Regions from separate parts of the Homo sapiens genome. Here all the other regions are linked to region 3. Evidence: promoter capture Hi-C in human tissues and cell types (Jung and others, 2019). All regions are on one chromosome and are shown on one strand. The core of a region is centred on a gene start or on the middle of the fragment in contact, and the rest is flanking DNA. Distances in the headings are between cores, read along the strand shown.

The links. The method cuts DNA at HindIII sites, captures the fragments that hold promoters and counts their contacts. A contact is called where the count stands out against the background at its distance.
Region 1: a contact is called between a fragment that was not itself captured here and the fragment with the promoter of KIF6 in region 3, in 1 of the 25 tissues and cell types used here (psoas muscle).
Region 2: a fragment that was not itself captured here is called in contact with the fragment with the promoter of KIF6 in region 3 in 1 of the 25 tissues and cell types used here (hippocampus).

What each region holds. Positions count from the first base shown.
Region 1 is chr6:39,758,479-39,761,494 of GRCh38, forward strand. No RefSeq gene overlaps it. Among named protein-coding and RNA genes, the nearest start is that of DAAM2, 32 kb to the right of the region's middle. The HindIII fragment of the contact is 4,847 bases long and covers 1-3,016 here.
Region 2 is chr6:39,678,981-39,682,031 of GRCh38, forward strand. The region is part of intron 3 of KIF6 (kinesin family member 6); the gene reads right to left. Among named protein-coding and RNA genes, the nearest start is that of KIF6, 45 kb to the right of the region's middle. The HindIII fragment of the contact is 9,076 bases long and covers 1-3,051 here.
Region 3 is chr6:39,723,882-39,726,882 of GRCh38, forward strand. KIF6 (kinesin family member 6) reads right to left here and starts at 1,527. Exons shown (of 23, transcript NM_145027.6): 1 at 1,364-1,527. The coding sequence starts at 1,429. RefSeq lists silencers at 1,248-1,317, 1,530-1,861, 1,568-1,767. The HindIII fragment of the contact is 25,522 bases long and covers 1-3,001 here.

The DNA.
Region 1 (3,016 bases), core at 369-2,868, 35 kb after region 3:
CCACACATTTTTTTTGAGCTCTGAATGTTAAAGGGAGAAAGAACAAAACAATAACATTTTTTTTTCCATGGGGAGTTATTCTCCCCATGCCCATAAACAAATTGACTCCTCTTTCACCAAGATGATGCCTCTGACAGTGCTCAACTGTGCTGGTAGAGGGGTTTCTTTAGTAGCAAGAGACAGCTGAGGGAAGTGAAATGTTTAACATGATAAGAGTCTCATGGGGGCTCTTTAAAAATATTACAGGACTCTGCGTCCCAAGCTATACTTCCAAATTAGTCTGCTCAGAAAAATGGCACTGGGAAAGTGTTTCTAACAAGTGCCTCAGGATCAGATGTATTTGAAAGATACTAGTAGAATGGTTAAGAACCTGGGTACATAAAGCCAGCTTGATTATGTTTTCTTTTAGATTCTGACCCTCGCTTGCTATGTCACTTTGGAGAAATTAGCTAACATTTCTGTGCTTTACTTTCTTCCCTGCAAAGTGCAATAATGAACAGTGCCTCTGTCACCTGATGCTACGGGGACCCAAAGAGTTGATGGTTACTGAGTGTGTAAGACAGTGCCTATGATGTAGTAAATTGCTCATGACATTTTAACTCTTATGATTGTTGCTGTTATTATCATTATCATTCTTACTAGTGACAGATCTAATTCAAGAAAGATCTTGAGCACTTGCCAGATATTACGCTAGGGTCTAGTGCAGTGTGCATGTGTTTGTGGGGGTAGGGATAGGATACAGAAGTGAGCAAGATCCACCATCTGCTCATAGCTAGGTGAGTTTTTTGTTACCCATTCACATTTTTCTGTCTAATCTCCATTACTCAGAGCATCCATTCAGCAGCTATCTGCCAGTATTAGGAGTGGGGTCTGTGGTTGTTACAGGAGCAAGCTAACAGTCTTTGATCTTGGCTTCAGAGAGTCTCTGATGTGTATAGGAAAGAGTTTCTGAGTCATCAGATCAGAGTTCAAGTCCCAGGCTATCTCACTTACTGGAGGAATGAATGCCCTTGGGCAAATTATTTCAGTTCTCTGAGGTTCTGTTTCCTAATTTCTGAATTTATTATACCTTTTTGGGCTATTGTGAAGCTTAAATGAGATGATATACATAAAAACTCCTGGCACATCATAGGGGCCGAATAAATGGGTGTCTCACCTTGTTTCATTAGCATTGTTTTGGCTCACTGAGCTAACCCACCTACAGAGCCCAGATAAGCCCAGCTGTTTCTCTAGGAGAGCAGAGTTCCAAAACCTAAAAGGATTCCAAAACTGCCAGTCCCATAAGTCAAATAGCCTATCTTCACTTTGGAGGTCTTCATGGAACTATTAGATTGTGATGCACAGGACTTTTCACTCCTTACTCTTGTACTGTCTTGTCATTCACTCCTACAGTCTGGGGGTGTTATCAGAGTTTCAGGGTCATTTTCAAATACTGATAGATATACATGCCAGTTCAATAAAGCCAATTATTTCCCCACAGTTTGGCTTTGATTTCATCAACCTGATTTGGAATCCTTGCCCTCTGCCTCAATGTTGAGCACATCTGGCCCCTATAAACATGCTATTAAAGTGTTTTCAGAATGAACTTTGAAACAGTACAGTAAGTAATACCATCAAAACAGTAGTCATGGTAAAATAATCTTTTTAAACAGCCTAATTTTTTTGGGCTTTGATGTGTCCAAATTTCAAAAGAACGTATAAACTAATTGGTATAAATTTCATTTAAAAAAATCAGAACATTTCCTAAAGTAGTTGCCAAAATGATGCCTAATTTAGAATTGTTCTTTCTTTCTTAGTTTGCAAGGGATTTGGTATGGGTTAAGGTTAGGTAACAGAGGTTGCAAATCAAAATTTACTTCTTACAGATCTTAAACTTCAGAGAAAGTTAGTCCCCCAAAATGGATTGGAAAGTCCTTGAGAGCTTTGTGAAGGCGAAGGGCAGGATTATGCAAAGATAGTAACAGGCAGTTCATGACCTTTTTGCCATTTTTCAAGTGTGATGGTGCACTCCTCCAAGTTAAAACAGAAATAGAAATGTAACTAAAACCTTTTGGCACTCAGAATAATGCTAAAAATCTGCTAGATAAGCAACTAGTGTTCAAAGGTAAAATAAATCATACAAATTATATTATTAATTTATTTAAACATGAGTCTGTACTTTGGGGAAAAATTATTTCTGGAAGAATAGAATGGAATTCTGAATGTAGTTGCCAAGACATCCCTTGAGGAAAAATTCCAGCCACTAGATAACCGGGATGTAGTAATAACCACAAGAGTAGACTGCCAGTTCCTAGAATACTTAGCCAGAACTGATCCTGTGTCCTCTGTACAGAAAGAAGAGGTTATACCTGCAGTGATAGAAAGAATGCCACTTTTTTTTTTTAAGAAAGTCAAATACGCACCTTTAATCAATCACATAGGATGCCCAGGTTCTAATTAACCTTAGAGCTTCCCCATGCCAACAGCTTCCAGTCAGACCATCCCTAAAGCATTCTTTTTTTAAATTCCCTGACTGTAGGTATACTTCTCACTTCTTTGCCTGCTTTTGAGTCTCTGTGAAATGCAAGTGATGGTGGCTACTTCCTTGTGATAGCAAGCTCTGGATGAGCAAGACTTTGCTTGGTCTCACTTGAGTAGTCTTTTTCTGTTTTTTTTTTTTCTATTCATATTAAAATTATTTATAGGTCTCTTACCTCTACATAGAGAATTTGTGGCACTTAGGACACATGATTTTCTTTCTTTCTTTTTTTTTCTTTATTTCTTCTTAAAAAAATGGGATACATGTGCAGAACGTGCAGGTTTGTTACATAGGTATATGTGTGCCATGGTGGTTTGCTGCACCTATCGACCCGTCCTCTAAGTTCTCTCTCATCAACCCCCATCCCAAAACAGGCCCTGGTGTGTGTTGTTCCCCTGTCTGTGTCCAGGTGTTCACAATGTTCACCTCCCACTTATGAATGTGAACATGTAGTGTTTGGTTTTCTGTTCCTGTGTTAGTTTGCTGAGGATGATGGCT
Region 2 (3,051 bases), core at 385-2,884, 45 kb before region 3:
ATCACATACTGATGTTCAACAAACAAATGACAGCAGAATTTTAAAAGGAAGAATAAGTTACAAAGCACACGTTGAAATAATATGTTGGGCTAAATTTACAACTAACATCTTTGTAAAAACAGACTTGGCCCAAACATCAATTTGTATACACAATTAGAGTTCTGTTATTAAAAACAGATGAAGACAAAAGGAAGCCATCATTTAATTGGTACTAACTGTACCTACTTGTGTGGAAAACAGTGCTGTGTGTACTGATACATGAATTCACATGGCCAAATTTATGATATCTCAGTCTCTTTTTAAAGAGTCCAGTTAATCTGCTTACATCATATCATTTTTAAGGGATGCATTAGGGCGGTATTATCCTCACTGATGCTTACCTTACCACCAGGGGTGAGATACCTAGAAATGGAACGGTGGGGGACAGGGCAAGGAAGACGGAAGAAAAGTTAACAGAGGAGTCATCTGTCCAGTAGAATTTTAGATCCTTTGGCTTCTTCTGAAATTCCCTTTGGCTTTTGAACATGTCATTCTCTCTCCATGGAATGCTATCCAGAATGTCCATGTTTCTGAATTGGAGATCAGCCTTATAATCAATGCATAGATAATACATGGCAGGGTTTCTTTTCTTTTCTTTTTTTTTTTTTTTTTTTGAGGCGGAGTCTCACTCTGCTGCCCAGGCTGGAGTGCAGTGGTGCAATCTCGGCTCACTGTAACCTCCACCTCCTGGGTTCAAGCAATTCTCTTGCCTCAGCCTCCCGAGTAGCTGGGACTACAGGTGCATGCCACCATGCCCGGCTAATTTTTTGTATTTTTTTAGTAGAGAAGGGGTTTCACCGTGTTAGCCAGGATGGTCTCAATCTCCTGACCTCGTGATCCGCCCACCTCAGCCTCCCAAAGTGCTGGGATTACAGGCGTGAGCCACCATGCCTGGCTGGCAGGGTTTCTTTTCTTACATGGAAGCTGTTATAACCTAACAGTATATCTTAAAAGTTCTGGCATCTCAAATAAAACAAGTATAGTTAGTTTTTTTGTTTGTTTATTTTGAGGCAGGGTCTCATGCTGTTGCCCAGGCTGGAGTGCAGTGGCGTGATCTCAGCTCACTGCAACCTCCACTTCCCGGGTTGAGCAATTCTCATGCCTCAGCCTCCCAAGTAGCTGGGATTACAGCGGCACACCACCACACCTGGCTAATTTTTGTAATTTTAGTAGACACAAAGTTTCGCCATGTTGGCCAGGCTGGTTTTGAACTCCTGACCTCAAGTGACCCGCCCACCTCAGCCTCCCAAAGTGCTGGGACTACAGGCATGAGCCACCATGCCCGGGTGTATAATTAGTTTTTAATTCAGAAAACTATCAGCTTCTTAAGAGCAGACATGGCACTTTAATATTTGTCAGTAATTCCTGCTGTACCCATCATAGCTCTGGCTTTCAGTGACTATGCACTGACTGGTTTAGATAGGCCTTCAAACAACTTAGAGTTCAATACAGTAAACAGGAGAACACCAACAGAAAATTCACTAATGCATATATGAAACTGTAGAAGGGAAATGGGTCAGCTACCTTTCTCACAGATAGATAGTAGAGGGAGACATGATGGGCTTATCAATGAAGACCTTAATCTAAGAACTAAAAGAGAGAGAATGCAGTTTAACAGGCAGTGAAACAAATACCCCATGCTACTCTGACAACTTGACAAAGACTAGAAATAGGTGGTCATTAAGCCAGCAGCTTTGCTAAAAAGGCCAGTAGAAGATGTAGTAAGTGGTTATAAAAGTAAGGCAATAAGCTAAGGTAGCTACAGAAGTGGTGCTACCATTCCATAAACATGTATTTAAAACCCTTTTTGTCCCATTTTATTAGGTAAAATAGGGAATAGAAGAAGGACTGCAGGTGGGGAATGCAAAAGTGAATAAAACACAGTGCTTGTCTTTAGTATGGTCAGTGTACAGGACACAGGCAGATAAATACAATTACAATATGATAAAGGCCATGTATCAAGTACTTTGGGTACAAGGAAGAGGGAATAAATGTGTCTGTCTGAGAAAGCCAATAAAAGTTCTTAATAAATGACTTCAAAAAGTAATTCAATGCTGAGAAGTTGAATCTGGGCAAATAAATACATAAAATAAAATAAAATAAAATAAAAAATAACTCAAGACATTTTTATACTATAACATTAAGGCAAAATTTTGATGATCCGATTTGAACACAATGACCATTACAATGAAGGAAAGATCTTCATAATATAACCAAGCTGTTTCCATATTTCAGAAGAATACCCAATTAAAAGCAAAAACAAAAAGACCTTCACTTCTCTATTTACAACAAACTGCCAACACCAAATAGTTCACTATAGGAACTGTATTCTGTTTTGTTTTGTTTCATTTTCTGGCCCTTGTTCATGTATATTTTCATGTATAAAAACAGCACCTGAGGATGTAGCTTTTTATGCTACAAAAAGTAGGAGAGAATACTATTTACCTTAATGTTTTAAAAAAAAACTCTAGAATCTTTTCTTGTCAACAAATCATAATTGCCTTTTAATTTTTTTCTCTTCCTCAACTACCCCTACTTCTTTCAATACTCAAATCCTTCAGCCAGAAACAAACAAAAAACCCAAAGCCAACATTCCATGTAAAATATCAGGGAGGCTAGAGAAGAGGCAGGAGGTTCACTAGATAGATCTCACTTCTCATTTCAGAGTCAGAACTCTTCCCTTCCCAATTCCACGGAGAAATGGACAATAAGCAGTTTCATCCTTAGTTTCTGTGGACTGGAAATGCAATTTCTGGCCCTGTGACAAATTCCGCTATAACAAAGCCAATAGCATGCCCCGTGGAATTCACTGTAATGGGATTTTAACTGTATTGGCATTATGTACAAATCCAAAGAAAAGCACATCTTAGGGAATGATGAATGTAGGAAGAACTACAGGGGTATGTAGAGTTTGGAAAATTCACCATTTTTTTCTTTCAGAGAAAAAAAATGCTCATCGGGGGAAATACTGAATTCTGTCAACTTACTCATTCCACAGATATTTATGAATAC
Region 3 (3,001 bases), core at 277-2,776:
TTAAAGTATAATAACGAATAAAATAAATGTTCTAAAATTGAAAAAAAAAATTACAGCTATGCCACTCCCCAGCTGGGTGCCTTGGTCACATTATTTAACCTGAGACTCAGTTTCCTAATCTGTAAAATGCGGAAAATGACACCAACCTTGCAGGGTTCTTGTGAGAATGAGAGATAATGCAGATAAAGCACCTGTCAGGTGGCCATTTCTCAAGATACATAAGAATGACTATGCTCCCTTCTAGGCAGAAGAGAGGATGTTTTGAAATATTTAAGAAGCATAAAAAGTGCTGGGCGCGGTGGCTCACGCCTGTAATCCCAGCACTTTGGGAGGCCGAGGCGGGCGGATCACAAGATCAGGAGGAGATCGAGACCATCCTAGCTAACAGGGTGAAACCCGGTCTCTTCTAAAACCACAAAAAATTAACCGGGCGTGGTGGCGGGCACCTGTAGTCCCAGCTACTTGAGAGGTTGAGGCAGGAGAATGGCGTGAATCCAAGAGGCAGAGCTTGCAGTGAGCCGAGATCGCGCCACTGCACTTCAGTCTGGGTGGCAGAGCGAGACTCCGTCTCAAAAAAAAAAAAAAAAAAAAAAGGTGCATACAAAGTATCATTGCTCAGAGTCAGGGCAATGTCTTAACCTTCTTTATACCTTTCTGAATTTAGCACACTAGAGGAAGCACCTGGTAAATATTTAGTTAATTGTTTCTGAATGAAGTACACATGCGTATTCTTTGGGTCAGGATGCTTAAGCATCTACCTATATCTATTAATACAAGGAGTATATGTAAAGGTTCACGTTTATGTTGGAGAATAACAACAGTCAACTAATTACTGAGGCCCCACTGGGTGCAAAGTACTACATATGTGTATGCTTTGTGCATTTGTGTCTATCTATATTTGTATTATTTCAGAGGTACATAAACACGCATCTCTTGCTTGCACGTTTTGCCCGAGTGCCAAAATGTACCTTTGAGTGTATCTGCATGTGCGGTGCTGCGTGAGTTTCCCAGAAAGGTGCAATAAGTGCTTATGTGTAGTTGAAGCGCACACTATACAGGCATACTGAACATGCACTAGTCTGCCCCCGCGTGAACACGTGTGCCTGGGTGCAAAAAAAATGGCTCTCTGCCGGGTCTGCGCTGTGCCAGGTAGGAGTGGCCTGGCTGTCGGTCGCGTAGCTGACAGCAGTGCGCGGGGGTCTTCGCGGCTGCAGGGCTCCTCGGTCAGTGTGTGCGGGATTCCGGGCGGCCTCGGCGCCCACCAGCAAGCCCCTCACCTCCGCCCAGCCCCTTCGCGTGCCGCCGCCCGACCCCAGCCCAAGAGGCCCCGCCGCGCCGGCGCCCCGGAGGCTCCAGCCCGTACCCCTTGTTGGTGCTTCCGGACAGGGGGCTTCACCCTCGCGAATATCTGGATAGTCTGCTTCACCATCTCCTCCCTGGCTCTGCAATGACCCTTGACCTCTCTCAGGCCCGGGCTGCCAAAACTAACTCCCACCACCTCCGGCGACCCACAGTCTTAGCAACAGTAGCTAGGGACACTACCCAGTGAGCACCTTGGCAGCCAGGATCCCGCCTCCTCCCTCTAATTGGTCGCGACCGGAAGGAGGCCACTACGGGGCGGGGCTAGGGAGGGGAGGGCGGGGGTGGAGAGGAGAGCGCTGCGCATGCGCATGAGCGAGTGTCTGGGCTCTGGGTTTAGCGCCGGACCCGGCCTGGACCGTGTGGTTAAAGGGGAACAACCACCATGCCTTGCCCCGCCCCGCTCATTCACCCATTTTATTCTCCATGCCCTTGCCTTTAAAAAAAAATACAGCACTGGGCCGGGCGTGGTGGCTCATGCTTGTAATCCCAGCAGTTTTTGGGAAGCCGAGGTGGTAGGATCGCTTAGAGCCCAGGAATTTGAGACCAGCCTGGGCAGCATAGTGAGACTCCGTCTCTACAAAAAATACAAAAGTTAGCCAAGCGTGGTGGCGCGCCTGTATCCCAGCTACTCGGGAGGTTGAGGCAGGAGGATCGCTTGAGCCCGGGAGGTCGAAGCTGTAGTGAGCCAAGATTGCAGAACTGCTCCAGCCCACTTGGAGATCACAGTCTGAAGAAGGAGACAGATTTTTTTTTTCCTTCACAAGGTCTCTCAAGTGACAAGGAGACAGATTTTCAACAGGAAATCAAAACCAAGGAATACAAACTATGCCATGATGGAATTAGAAGTGGGGCTAGCTCTGTTTTGGAAAAGGATAAAACTGGATGAAGGGGACTGTTTCCCACACAATGGTCACGGCAAGAAAGGATGAGCTCTTCAAACACTGTTAGCACATGAAAAGATAGTCAACATTATTATCCACGTGGGAAATATAAGTTAAAACCACAATGAGGCATCACTATTCATCTATCAGAATGGCTTAAAAAAAAAAAAAAAAAAAAAAAGTGGCAACACCAGATGCTAGCAAAGATGTGGAGAAACTGAATCAGTTGCACTTTACTGGTAGGAATGTATAATGTAAAACATACACTGTATAAAGGTACAGCCACTCTGGAAAATAGTTTGACAGTTTCTTACAAAACTAAAGGTGCAACTACTCTAAGACACAGCAATTGCACTCTTGGGCATTTATCTCAGATGAATGAAAACGTGTGTTCACACAAAAACCTGCGCATGTGTGTTTATAGTTTTAGCACCTTTATTTGTAATAGCCCCAAACTGGAAAAAAAACCCAGATGTTCTTCAGCTGATAGTTTAAAATAACTGGAATACCATTCAGCAATTAAGAAGGAAGGAAGTGTTGATACACGTAACAAATTGGTTGAATTTTCGGGGAATTATGTTTCATGAAAGAAGCCAGACTCGAAAGCTAACTACCGTATGGTTCTATTACTATTGCCAGGGAGGTGTGCAGGGTATGGTTATAAAAGAAATCCTTGTGATGGGCTGTTCTGTATCTTGACTGTGATGGTGATCACAGAAATCTACACATGTGATAGCATTGCATAGAACAAATTACAC